Regions from separate parts of the Homo sapiens genome. Here region 2 is linked to region 1. Evidence: promoter capture Hi-C in 16 types of primary human blood cells and fetal thymus (Javierre and others, 2016). All regions are on one chromosome and are shown on one strand. Each heading gives the region's core, a stretch centred on a gene start or on the middle of the fragment in contact. The rest is flanking DNA. Distances are from core to core; before and after follow the strand shown. Region 1 holds the start of CEACAM8 (CEA cell adhesion molecule 8). Region 2 has its middle 22 kb from the start of LINC03078.

Region 1 (6,018 bases), core at 515-3,014:
CACTTCCCTTCCAGTCCACCAGAGGGCGACAGAGTCCCTCCAGCCTGGAGCCTTCCCAGGGGCTGCTGACCTCCCTCAGCGGAACCCACAGCCCAGCAGGGTCCACCCTCACCAGGGCACCTCGGCCCACGTCCTCCTTACCCTCCAAGCTCCCCATACGGACTCTGTCAGCTCCTCCCTGCAGCCAGGCAGCCGGCAACATGAGGCCGCCCCCTCTGCAGGCAGCTCCTGCCCCACACACCCAATCCTTCCCTGGGCCTAGTTAAGGCATCTCCCAGGGCAGCGCTGGTGCACGGGATGCCACACTGGGCGCTTTCCCCTCGTGACCTCCCTCCATCCTCATCAACTCTTTCTGTGACTGCTCCCTAAATACCCGCCCCTGCTCCGTGTGTCCTGTTCTCTACGGCATGGCAGGCTGAGCCCAGCGCTGACAGAACCACAGCTGCCTGAGGGCCCACAGTGCCTCTGGGGAATCAGCCAGGCACCCTATGACCTTCCCTCTGCACCCCAGGAGGCTCGGAGAGTATGTGATGGTCACGCCCAGGCACTGTCTGGGATGTAGCCACCTGCCCCCTGCTGTCCTTCGTGAAGCCAGGAGGGAGGACAGCGCTCTCTCATGTACACAAGCTGGGGGGCAAGGAATGAGCTCCCTTTGTTCCCAGAACATGGCCCACCCCTACCTGCCCTCTCAGGTGTGAGCAACGTCCCCCCAGACGGGCTCCCCGGCCGCTGCCCATCCTTTCTCTACACAGAGGGGCCTGACCAGGTCCAAACCCTTAGGACAGACCCCAGGGGATATCAGCATGGGGAGGGCTGAGCCCATCCTGGCTGCAGAGTAAGTTGGGATGAGTCTCTCCAGCTCTGAGCCCCTGCTCTGTCCCAGGCTCCCTCTCCTGGATCTCAGAGAGCACTGTCTTGTGGGGCCCCTGGGCAACTCCCCACTTCCTGCTGCACCAACCATAGGGAAGGTGGGGTGACCACAGGACAGTCAGCCGGGCGAAAACAGAGGACACCCAAGATGGTCAGAGAGAACATGGAAGGCCCGAGCCCCAGCTCAGCTGCCAGAACCCAAAGAGCAAGAGAATGGCTGATACCTGTCCCTGATGACCACTAGGCCCACAGCCCCCACTGACCAACCAGAACAGCCCTCTCTCTCAGGAGGCATAAGAGATTATTTGCCCTGCACACCACCAGTAAGGACAGTCCCCTCTGGGATATCCAGGGCATTGAATGTCCATCCTTGGAAGCTGCAACCAAGCTTGACACAATGAGAGAGGGGGAGGATCCCTCTCACCAGTGAGCACACACCTCCCCAAAGCTCAGTGGTGGTGTCCCTGTGACAGGGTCCTTGCGGAGCGCTGACCTCCTGATCTGAAGGGAAGAGCCAGATGGGGATGGGAGAGGGCAGGGGGAGCGACTGTGCACCCCGACCTGGAGACATAGGCTGCAGGATGCTGAGGGCACAGGGCTGTGCTCACCCAGTCTCCAGGGTGTATGTGTGACTGTGTGTGTCTCTTTGTGTATGTGTGTGTCTCTGTGTGTGTGTGTCTGCATAGTGTGTGCAGAGGTTGGGTGAGAGAATCACTGCTGAAGGAGTCAGAGACCTCAGCAATTCCCAGGGGCCTGAAACACAGACAGAAAATAAAGGGAAAGGAGGGACAGGGAGGCAGGACTGAGAGGGGAGGGGACAGAGAGGTGTCCTGGGCACAGACCCCGCCCATGAGCCTGAGAAGTGCTCCTGCCCCGGGAAGAGGCTCAGCACAAAAGGAGGAAGGACAGCACAGCTGACAGCCGTGCTCAGAAAGTTTCTGGATCCCAGGCTCATCTCCACAGAGGAGAACACGCAGGCAGCAGAGACCATGGGGCCCATCTCAGCCCCTTCCTGCAGATGGCGCATCCCCTGGCAGGGGCTCCTGCTCACAGGTGAGGAGAGGACTTCCTGGGAAAGGACAGGAGGAGGAAACACAGTGACTGGCTGGGGTCTCCTGGGGAGGACGGGGCTCTGAGAGGGGACAGAGGACTTCTGTTGGAGCCTTAATAGAGGAGAGGACACAAGAGAGGGGAAGGGGTCACAACAGGAAAATCACATTGAACTGGAATTGGTAAGAGGCAGGAACATCTCAAGTGTTCCATATTCCTGGTTAATCATCACTGGCCACTACATTTTGAAAAATGATAATAATAACCATACCAGATGACACTTCAAATAAAGCATAACCAGGGTATGAAACATTGTCCTCAGCCAACAATGTCAGACATTGGCAAATAAGCCTCAGGAAGCAGAGGGCCCAGGGAATGCTCAGGAACTCATCCACAGGAGTCTGAAGCCTGTCCCAGGCACTGGGGTGCAGCCAACACCACACAAGTCCCTGCCCTCACAGAGCTCACACTCTCCTGGGGAGGAAGACAGACAAAGAGATCTAGAATGTGAGGTCAGGCGCTGACAGGAGCCCTGGAAGGAACACAGCAGGGAAAGGTCAGAAAGGGAAGACCCAGTGTCTCTAGAGGAGGTGTCAGAGAAAGGGTCTCCCAAGGATGCCCTGATGTGAGCAGGATCTGAGGGCAGTGTGGAGGGAGCCGTGCAGAACCCTGAAGAAGAGGATTCCACCAGGGAAATGCCAAGGTCAGAGGTGTTGAAGAAATGGGGGCTGTGCTGCTGACATTGACTCAGTAGGACACACACACATACACACACATAAAAACACACAAACTCCAAAGCTGATGTCCCCATTTTTCTACTCCAATACATATGTTGCAATATTGCTTGATGCTCTCTCCCCCTCCTAGCCTCACTTTTCACCTTCTGGAACCCGCCCACCACTGCTCAGCTCACTATTGAAGCTGTGCCATCCAATGCTGCAGAGGGGAAGGAGGTTCTTCTACTTGTCCACAATCTGCCCCAGGACCCTCGTGGCTACAACTGGTACAAAGGGGAAACAGTGGATGCCAACCGTCGAATTATAGGATATGTAATATCAAATCAACAGATTACCCCAGGGCCTGCATACAGCAATCGAGAGACAATATACCCCAATGCATCCCTGCTGATGCGGAACGTCACCAGAAATGACACAGGATCCTACACCCTACAAGTCATAAAGCTAAATCTTATGAGTGAAGAAGTAACTGGCCAGTTCAGCGTACATCGTGAGTGATTCCCCATGACCTCTGGGTGTTGGGGGTCAGTTCTACTTCCCACACACAGGATTGTTAGGCCTGGGCTGTGCCCATGTCCCTCTCTGCATTACATCCCACTTTAGGGTTTGGACATTTAGTGCAGGACACACTCAGGGGAGACAGACTTCCACAGACCAGAATTCCTTTCCTGCATCCAGACCCTGCAGACACTCACGGCAGAGGAATGACAGTCTGATGGGGGGACTCAGCAGAAGGAGATCAGACTCAGCCAGGCACCCCGTGCCCTCCCCATGGACCTGACCCTGAGAAAAACTCTAAAGAACTGGGTCAGGGCCTGACCTGAGGGGCTCCCTGGGATCCTGGGATCCTCACAGAGAAGTTCATCCCTGGAAGCCCCTGCTCCAGACCCCTGTCCCAGGATCCTGACTCCAGGTAACCCTGGGAAACCTGTGCCAGCACTGGGTTGTAGCCTCCTGGGCAGGGCCAACTAGGAGCAAAGATTTACCAGCCATCCAAGGGCTGTGGCTCCTGGAGCTGCTCACCAGCCAGGGCTTAGACCCCAGAGCCTCATCTGGGCAAGGACAGAGTCTTGTCCTTCACCTGAGACTCAGAGTGGAGAGGACAGATGGACAAGCTTCTTAGGCCATCAGCCAACTGGCCTGGGAGGCTTAGGAGACTCCATAGAAAGTTCAGTGTCCCCAGGGACAGAAATAGAAGAAAGATGTTCCTAACAGCAACTTGTCCAGCAGGGATCATGCCAAGGGGACCCTCTCATGGAGGCAAATAATAACCCGTGCTGTTTGTGTGAGCGCCTCCTCTGTGCAAGCTTCAGGTCAGGTGACTATGGATAATTTAATGCTAATTCATAGAAAACCTGGCAGAAAATATCATTTTCCTATTGAGAAAGAAATAATAATTCTTTTTATTTCTTTTTTTTTTTTTTTTTTTTTTTGAGACGGAGTCTCTGTGGCCAGGCTGGAGTGCAGTGGTGCGATCTCAGCTCACTGCAACCTCTGCCTCCCGGGTTCAAGCGATTCTCCTGCCTCAGCCTCCCGAGTAGCTGGGACTACAGGTGCATGCCACCACCCCTAGCTAATTTTGGTATTTTTATTAGAGACAGAGTTTTACCATGTTGGCCAGGATGGTCTCGATTTCTTGACCTCATGATCCGCCTGCCTCGGCCTCCCAAAATGCTGGGATTACAGGCATGAGCCACTGCGCTCAGCCTATTATTTCTTTTAATAGAAGCTTATTATTGAGAAGAAACGGAGGCACAGGAAGACACAGTCACTGAACCAGGGTCACACAAACACGAGGGATAGATCAGGGTCACATGAGGTCTCTCTCCAGCCACAGCCCCGTCCTCTCTTCCACAAGAAGGCAGGGCTTATTGCGTTCCACGGACCCCATGGTCATCCATTGGCTCAAATCCTTTCTTCCTGAGCATCCAAAGCTCAGAGAAGTGAGAGCAAATAAGCAACTGATTCATTCGTACTCCAGAACTAAATCACCTGCCCCAACTGTCAGAGCCAGTGCGAGGAATGTCCAGGCTCCCTCTAAGATCCTAACCCCCCTCACTGAACCTGAAATCCTGTTTCCTGATGTGTTGCTGTCACTCCCATGGGAGGACAAAAGAGAGGACTTTGCTTTCTCTCCCCACTCACACCCTGCACCAGGACAGGCCCAACATGTGACACACACTCGATCGTTCTCTCATGGAGAGGGAATGAATGAGAGAATGAATGATGCAAAACCTCTTTAGAGACTAGATCCTGGATGGCCAGGCAGGTGCTGTCTGATGGGCTTACTGCCTGTTCCACACACATCTGTGTCCTCATGATGGCACCATTGTGATAAGATGGGGTCCTTCAGGTGGGGAGACGCATGAGCCACTGGCGTCTCACTTAGACTCTGTCCAATTCGCAAAAACCTAATCCAATTCTACTTGTGTCTCCCGAGGTCAAGAGAAAATGAAGAAAGCATTGCGCATACCTGTTTTGGGCTCCTCCCAATTTTGCCTAACTCTGCATAGGAATTAGGGGCAGGAAGCTTTCTAAATTTACTAACATAACACACATCGCTTCTCCTAATTTGGCATTGTTCCTCCCTTTATGGAATTGACACACCTAAGACTTCCTCTCTGACCGGTTCTGTCCTCTTAACAGGACTCACGTGCCTCCCTCTACCTGGGAGTTGCTAATTTCAAGCGAACTTCAGGATCTTCCTTTGAGCATAATGTGATCCTGCTGGAATTCACAGGACGCCTAAACCTTATTTTGTTATCAAGAGAAATACTCCTTCCACCAATTGATTTTAGATCTGTGGACAATTAATAGCAATTTCTACTTATGGAAAAAAATTCATGTTTCCTCCAATTTTGTTTTTGACTATAGTCAAAACATAATATCTAAACTCCTGACAAATTTTAAAATGCAAATTAGAGTTACACATTGACCATCAAAAATCCCAAATCTGAAATGCTCCAAAATTCCACATTTTTTGGCCACTAACGTGATTCTCAAAAGAAATGCTCACTGGAGCATTTTGGATTTGGGATTTTCAGATTTGAGATGCTAAACCAGTAAGTATACTGCAAATGTTCAAAAATTTATAAAAGTTAGAAATTCAAAACACTTTTGGCCCTAAGCCTTATGCATAAGAAATACTCACTGTATATGAGCTATAGGCACAAAGCTGTACAGCAGATCTCTAGAACCTCCTCATCCTGTGTAACTGAAACTGCAGACCCATGAACAACTCTCCATTCCCCCCACTCCCAGCCCATAGCAACCACCATTCTACTACGTGATTCCATGAGTGTGACTACCCTAGGAACCTCATGTAAGTGGAATCCTACAGTATCTGTCCTGTCAGTGGCTT
Region 2 (6,593 bases), core at 1,654-4,153, 720 kb before region 1:
ATATGTAGAACCAGAAGTCAAATACATGGGCCATTTAGCACCAGCAAAAGAAGAATTGGTCCTGAGCGAGTAGAAGGAATTCTGTCCCTGCCACTGCCCTGGATCAAACAAGAACTTAAAAAGTTTGTAGGATTAATTAGATACTGCCGATTATGGATCGACTCCTATGCATTAAGAAGTAAATTATTATATGAAAAGTTAGCTAATAAGGGGCCTGACCCCCTTATGTGGTCCTCTAAAGAAGTAGATCAAATTAATAAACTGAAGCATAGACTAATGTCTGCTCCAGTTTTAGCTCTGCCTTCTCTTAAGAAGCCCTTCCACCTTTTTGTTAATGTAAGCAATGGAGTAGCCTTAGGGGTGCTCACTCAAGAACACGGAGGCCGGTGACAACCAGTAGCTTTTCTGTCTAAGATTTTAAATCCTGTTGCCAGTGGGTGGCCCCAGTATATTCAATCTATTGCAACCACAGCCATATTAGTAGAAAAAAGTAGAAAAATAACCTTTGGGGGGTATTTGACCGTGAGCACATCTCATCAAGTCAAGACCATTTTGAGCCAAAAAGCAGGAAGCTGGCCCACTGATTCCAGAATTTTAAAATATAAGGCTATTCTGTTAAAAAAAAAAGGATGATTTAAATGACTTAACCATAACAACAGATAACTCACTCAACCCTGCAGGGTTCTTGACGGGAAATCCGTTGCTACAGACAGAACACTTGTGCCTCAACTTAATTGACTACCATACAAAAGTCCAGCCAGATTTAGCTGAGGCCTCTATAGATCGGGGCAACACCTATTCATAGACAAGTCCCCCTGGGTGTTTAATGGGGAATAACACAGTGGATATGCAGTAGTAGATAGAGAGACACTCGAAGAAATTAAATCAGGATGGTTACCCAATAGCTATTCTGCTCAAGCTTGTAAATTATTTGCCTTCAGTCAGGCCTTAAAATATTTAAAGGATCAGATAGAAACTATCTACACAGATTCTAAGTATGCCTTTAGGGTAGCACACACATTTGGGAAGATTTAGGCTGAACAAGGTCTTATAAATAGTAGGGGCCAAGAACTTGCTCATAAGTCATTAGTCATGTCTTAGATAATCTCCAGCTACTAAAGTAGATAGCCATCATGCACATTCCTGGACATCAACATGATTTTTCCCTTAAGAGCCGAAGGAATAACCTTGCAGATCAGATGGCCAAAAAGGCTGCAGTCTTAGATATGCCCATTTTTCATTTAACTCCCCACCTTCCTTCTCCTACTGTTGTGCCTATCTTCTCCCTGGCTGGGAAAGAAAAATTAGTTGAAATCCCAAAGCAAAAAAAAAAAAAAATTCATAAGAAAGCTGCATACTTCCAGATCAAAGAGAGATGCTATCTAAACCCTTTATGAGGGAAGTATTATCCCATTTACATCAAGGGACTCACTGGGGTCCCCAGGCCCTATGTGACATGATTCTCAGAGTCTTTAGGTGTATTGGCATTTATATTCTAGACAGGCAGATCACAAATGGCTGTCTCATCTGTAAGAAAGCTGACAAACAAGCTGAAAGGAAATTGCCTTTCGGAGGAAGAACTCCGGAGTTAAGACCATTCCAAAACGTCCAAGTCGATTATACTAAAATGCCACCCATTAGTCGGCTAAAACACCTGCTAGTAATAATTAATTACCTTAACCACTGGGTAGAAGCCATCCCCTTTTCGAGGCAACTGCCAATAATGTGGTAAAACCATTAATTGAGCATATTATACCCAAGTTTGGAATAATAGAAAATATTGACTCAAACAATGAAACCCATTTTGCTGCACATATTATTAAAAAGCTGGCCCAAGTGCTAGACATAAAATGGGAATATCATATTCCCTGGCATCCCTTATCCTCCGGACAAGTAGAAAGAATAAATCAAACCCTTAAGAATCATCTGACTAAATTAATTCTAGAAACTCATTTACCATGGACCAAATGTCTTCCCATTGCCTTATTAAGGATCAGGACAGCTCCCCAAAAGGATACAGGCCTGTCTCCATATAAAATGTTATATGGATTGCCTTATTTACATTCCTCAGCTAATGTTCCTATGTTTGAAACTAAGGATCAGTTCCTCAGAAATTATATACTTGGTCTCTCCGCTACCTTTTCTTCTCTTAAGATAAAAGATCTCTTAGCACAGACACCACCGCTAGAATTTCTAGCTCACCAGCACTAACCCAGGGACCATGTTCTCATCAGAGGGTAAAAAGAAGGGAAACTTGTGCCCGCCTGGGAAGGCCCTTATCCTGTACAGTTGACCACCAAGACTGCCATCCGCACAGCCAAGAGAAGATGGACCCACCATACTTAAGTCAAGAAATCATCTTCCTCATCAGAATCATAGGTTAGTGTACCGGGATCAAGCCTTAACAAGTTAAAGTTAAAAAAAACCAAAAGCTTAATTTCCATATCCCTTCTATATTGCTTCCTTTCCTTTCCTTATTCTGTTACTAGCTCCTTTTGTTATTAACATAACTAAGTCTGACTCATCTCAGACCATTGCCTTTAATGCATGCTCTGTCATACCTTGTAAAGATGTGAAGGATCAATGACAGCTAGCTTTTTCACACAAATATTTATGCTCCGGCCCTCTAGTTGACATAGTTCCTCCTAGCACTCATGGTTGTGAATACCTGCAGCCGAGACACCAATTTTCTGCTCCTATAGCCTGGCAACCTTGTAGTAGCTGGGACTACATCCTATGGACTACTCAGGTGCAAGGTTGGACTTCCACGGAAGAGGTTTGTGCAGATCTAAAACCCCTCACTAAAGGGACTACGCCTTCTAATTGCCAGCCTTATCAGTGTAACACTGTCCTTCTCTCTATCACCACCTCCACCTTAACTGACTCTAAACCTACTCTTAGTTGCTTCTATGGTATGGGGATCGACCTAAATGGGAAACACCCCCTATGCATTTTTTAGATATGCATTATTCCCCATCTTCCCCTTCTTCAGTAGCCTCAGTTTTAGATCCCATCCCACTTACTCCTACACCTATAATAAAACTACGGTGTCTATTGCAAAGGTGAAAGATCTAAAACAAACCTTAGCCATTAAGACAATGTATCAAAATGCAAATGCCCGGCTGGAATGGATTAAATATTCCATCTGCACTTTAAATAACAGTGATTGTTATGCTTGTGCACAGACGCCCAGATTGTCCCCTTTCCACTCGGATGGTCTCCTCATCAACCAGGTATGGACCATATGGTCACACACAGCTGTGACCATCAGTCATTGTGAGGAGGATTCTACCACAGGCTAAATCCTACCAAAATCCCACTGCTTGGGATAATCCATCATGCTGAGCTCTCTCTCTGCTGTTTCCTAAAGCTTGACACCCTGTGGGTCAGCCCCCAAGGGCAATCCAGCTTCCACCTCTAAATGCCAAGTTTAGTTCGTGCCTCCCATGGCAAGTGGAGAATTTGGTGTTCCTTGGAAGCATAAAAGGATGCAAGAAGCTCAAGCCTTTCCAGGAGCTTGCCCATCAGTCTGTGCTTAGCCACCCCTGAGCAAATGTATGCTAGTACTGTGAAGGACCTTTACTGGACACTCTGCCAGATAATTGGAGGAGTATTTATGCTCTAATCCAATTGGCTATCCCTTTCACCCTGGCATTTTATCAGCCTTAAAAAAAAAAAAAGTAAAAACAAAACACTGCAGGCCCAAAGAAACTCTTTATAAATCCTTTAATCCTCAGGTTTACATAAACACTATTGGGGTCCCGCAAGAAGTGCCAGATAAATTTAAAGCACGAAATCAAATAGCTGTGAGATTTAAATCTTTGTTGTTCTGGTGGGTAACTATAAATAAAAATGTTTTCAAAGCTTTATACAAAAACTTGTCCCTGCTACTCTCACAAAATTGTTTCCTAACTCTCCACCATATTCAAAAAGATTACTTCTCTTAAAAGGACAAACAGAGCAATTAAGTCAAAACATATTAAACAAGTTTGAAGAGTAATTATAAAATAAAAGAGGGGAGAATTGTAGAGAATGAAATAAATAGAGGTCCTCTTCAAAGGGATTTTCCTCCCAGTCTAATTGAAAATAAATAGTAACCTCTCTTAAAAGCACAATTTTCTCAAAGACCTGTGCTAATATTCTTAAATTCTGCCAGCCATAATAAAGAAATCAATATACTCTGTGTTCTTAGACCCCACATTTTAGCTTAGATATTTGCCCTGATATGCCTGAACCAGTCCAAGCAAGCATTAGGTCAGGCTTATTCCTTTCCCTACTTGAAAATGTTTTTGCCTCTCTCAGCATTCCACAAGTTAATTCCTCTCTTCCTTTATTCTCTGCCTTTGCCTCTTTGGGAAAGTTCTAAGTTGCTAGCCAATCAAGTCAAGTACAAATTGGGAGGTCCGTTCCAGCCAATAGAAGCTGGACATAGCAGTAGGGTGGACGGGTCAGGTTATAAATGACCCTGTCTCCTTTGTTTGTGTGTGCTGTCATGGCAAGACTGCTAGCGAGTGACACCCTTTCTGCAGAAAGTAAACTAGCCTTTCTGAGAGATCCTTTGTCTCAGTGTTTATCTTTATGACACTGAGCACCCGTTCTCAACATCAGGAAGCATGTTCCCTGGACACTCTGTGTGAGCATTCAAGACCCTCCATTAAGTTTCCACACACGGCTGTGACCATCAGTCATTGTGAGGAGGATCTTATCACAGGCAAGACAATCAGCTACAGAGAGAAACCAAAAGTTGGAGGTGCTGGTTGCTGACATGGAGCAGAGTCCCTGTAGTTCACAGATCCAGCTAAATTAAAAGTGCCACCCCCCTTTTGATCCAGGCACCCCTGAGAAATAGCCTTTTCCTAAGGACTCCTCCATGGTGACACAACAGCGTCCCTCATTGTCAAGCTTCCATAGCGGGCAGCAACCTGGTCAGAACCCATCCCAGCTTCACCCTTCCTCCCTCCCATGGAGCTGGCCTCAGGGCTGAGAAAAAAAAAGGCAGAGGCCAGTGAGGCCAGAGATGGTGAGAGAGCAGCAACGCAAGGACAGCTGCCTGGAACAGGAGCAGGTGGGGCCACAGGGAGAAGGTGGTGCAAGAAGGAAAACCCAGGAATGGGCAGAAGAGCAGAGGAGAACCCAGGCTCTGTGGAGCTGCAACCTAGAATGAGACTGAATGTGAAGTTATCTCACCAGGGAAGGTCAGGCCTCATGAACAGGAGGGGAAGGAGCTCCCACCTTTCCTGCTCCAGACAGAATGTGCCCCCTCAAAATTGTTAAAGCCCTCATCCTTAATGTGATGAAATTTGGAGGTGGCATTTTTGGGAGATAATTACAGTAAGACTAAGTCATAAAAGTGGAGGCTTCATGATAGAGTTAATGACCTTATAAATAGAAGAAAACATGGGAGAAGGGTCTCTACCTCTTTCTGTCTCTCCACCCACCTTCAAGCCTGCACCATGTGCAGATACAGCAAGAGAGCAGGAATCTGCAAGGAAGCCCTCACCAGGACTGAATCAGCTGGAACCTTGAACTTGGACTTCCCAGGCTCCAGAACTATGAGAAATAGATTTCTAAATTTTAAGTCACCCAGACTAAGGTGTTTGTTACAGCAGCTGAAGCCCATGAAAACATCATCTGACACACTGTTTTGAATAAAACTCTTCCATTTCTCCATCAAATCACCTGACAGTGCCTGTCCCCAGCAGCACCAGAGACCCCAAGAAAAGAGCTCCAGCAGGGGCTCAACCAGCATGGGTCCCATGGGGCAGCCTCAATGTCAGGCACCAGATGGCAGGTGAGGCTATAGTGATACAACCACAATGTGAAAGTACAAATTTTTTTTTTGCTATTTACAGACTCTGAGGAGCACATGGCACACCTAGAGATAATAGACACAGAGGTCAAGGAGTCCAGGCAGAGAGGAAAGTAGGGACCTGTAGGCCAATGGCTTTAGTGGGTCCAAGGCGTTAGCTGAGGTTTCCAGCAGAAAGCTTTAATGGGTGAGTTTAAAGCAAGCAAACACTGGGGCCAGGTGACCACGCTGTGACTGAGAGGTGGTCACTTTAAATTTCAGGGCAAATTTCACAACCGTCAGTTTAAAGGAAGCAGCTGGGTAGAGGGGGAGCCCAGCACACTAAGCAGGAGAGATGCCTCTAAGATTTTATCTCTGGCCACCAACTGCAGCCATTTGGCCAGGTACAGTATTGGGAACTGTCACGGTGACCAAGCCCTGCCTCTGATATAAAGCAGGTAAACTTACACCTTAATAAATGAATGCCAAGGCAACATGAAATTACGAGCACTGGTGACATCCACGGACACCAACAGTGTGTGGTGTTGAGCCCTAAGGTCAGGGTCCTGCATTCTTGGTCCCCTGGGAGTGAGAAACAAAGATGACTTGTCCCTGCTCCCTCTCTGCTCCTCTGTCATTGATCTTCCTGCCCTGCACCTCCCTCTTCTGCTTCCAAACCTCTGCCCAGTGCTCAGCCCCACCCAGACATCACTGTCCCCAGGGCATACACAGTGCAGCCCACTGCACACAAACACAAACTCACAGGTGACAGAAATCTGTGTTTGGGACATCTGATTGTGATAGA

Evidence for each region. The method cuts DNA at HindIII sites, captures the fragments that hold promoters and counts their contacts. A CHiCAGO score of 5 or more calls a contact.
Region 2: a contact is called between a fragment that was not itself captured here and the fragment with the promoter of CEACAM8 in region 1, in 1 of 17 cell types (activated CD4 T cells). The highest score is 5.3, in activated CD4 T cells.

What each region holds. Positions count from the first base shown.
Region 1 is chr19:42,590,670-42,596,687 of GRCh38, reverse strand. It overlaps CEACAM8 (CEA cell adhesion molecule 8), which reads left to right and starts at 1,764. Exons shown (of 6, transcript NM_001816.4): 1 at 1,764-1,923; 2 at 2,788-3,147. The coding sequence starts at 1,860. All of the region lies in intron 2 of LIPE-AS1 (LIPE antisense RNA 1), which reads right to left. RefSeq lists an enhancer at 1-431. The HindIII fragment of the contact is 2,514 bases long and covers 1,261-3,774 here.
Region 2 is chr19:43,306,376-43,312,968 of GRCh38, reverse strand. No RefSeq gene overlaps it. Among named protein-coding and RNA genes, the nearest start is that of LINC03078, 22 kb to the left of the region's middle. The HindIII fragment of the contact is 938 bases long and covers 2,435-3,372 here.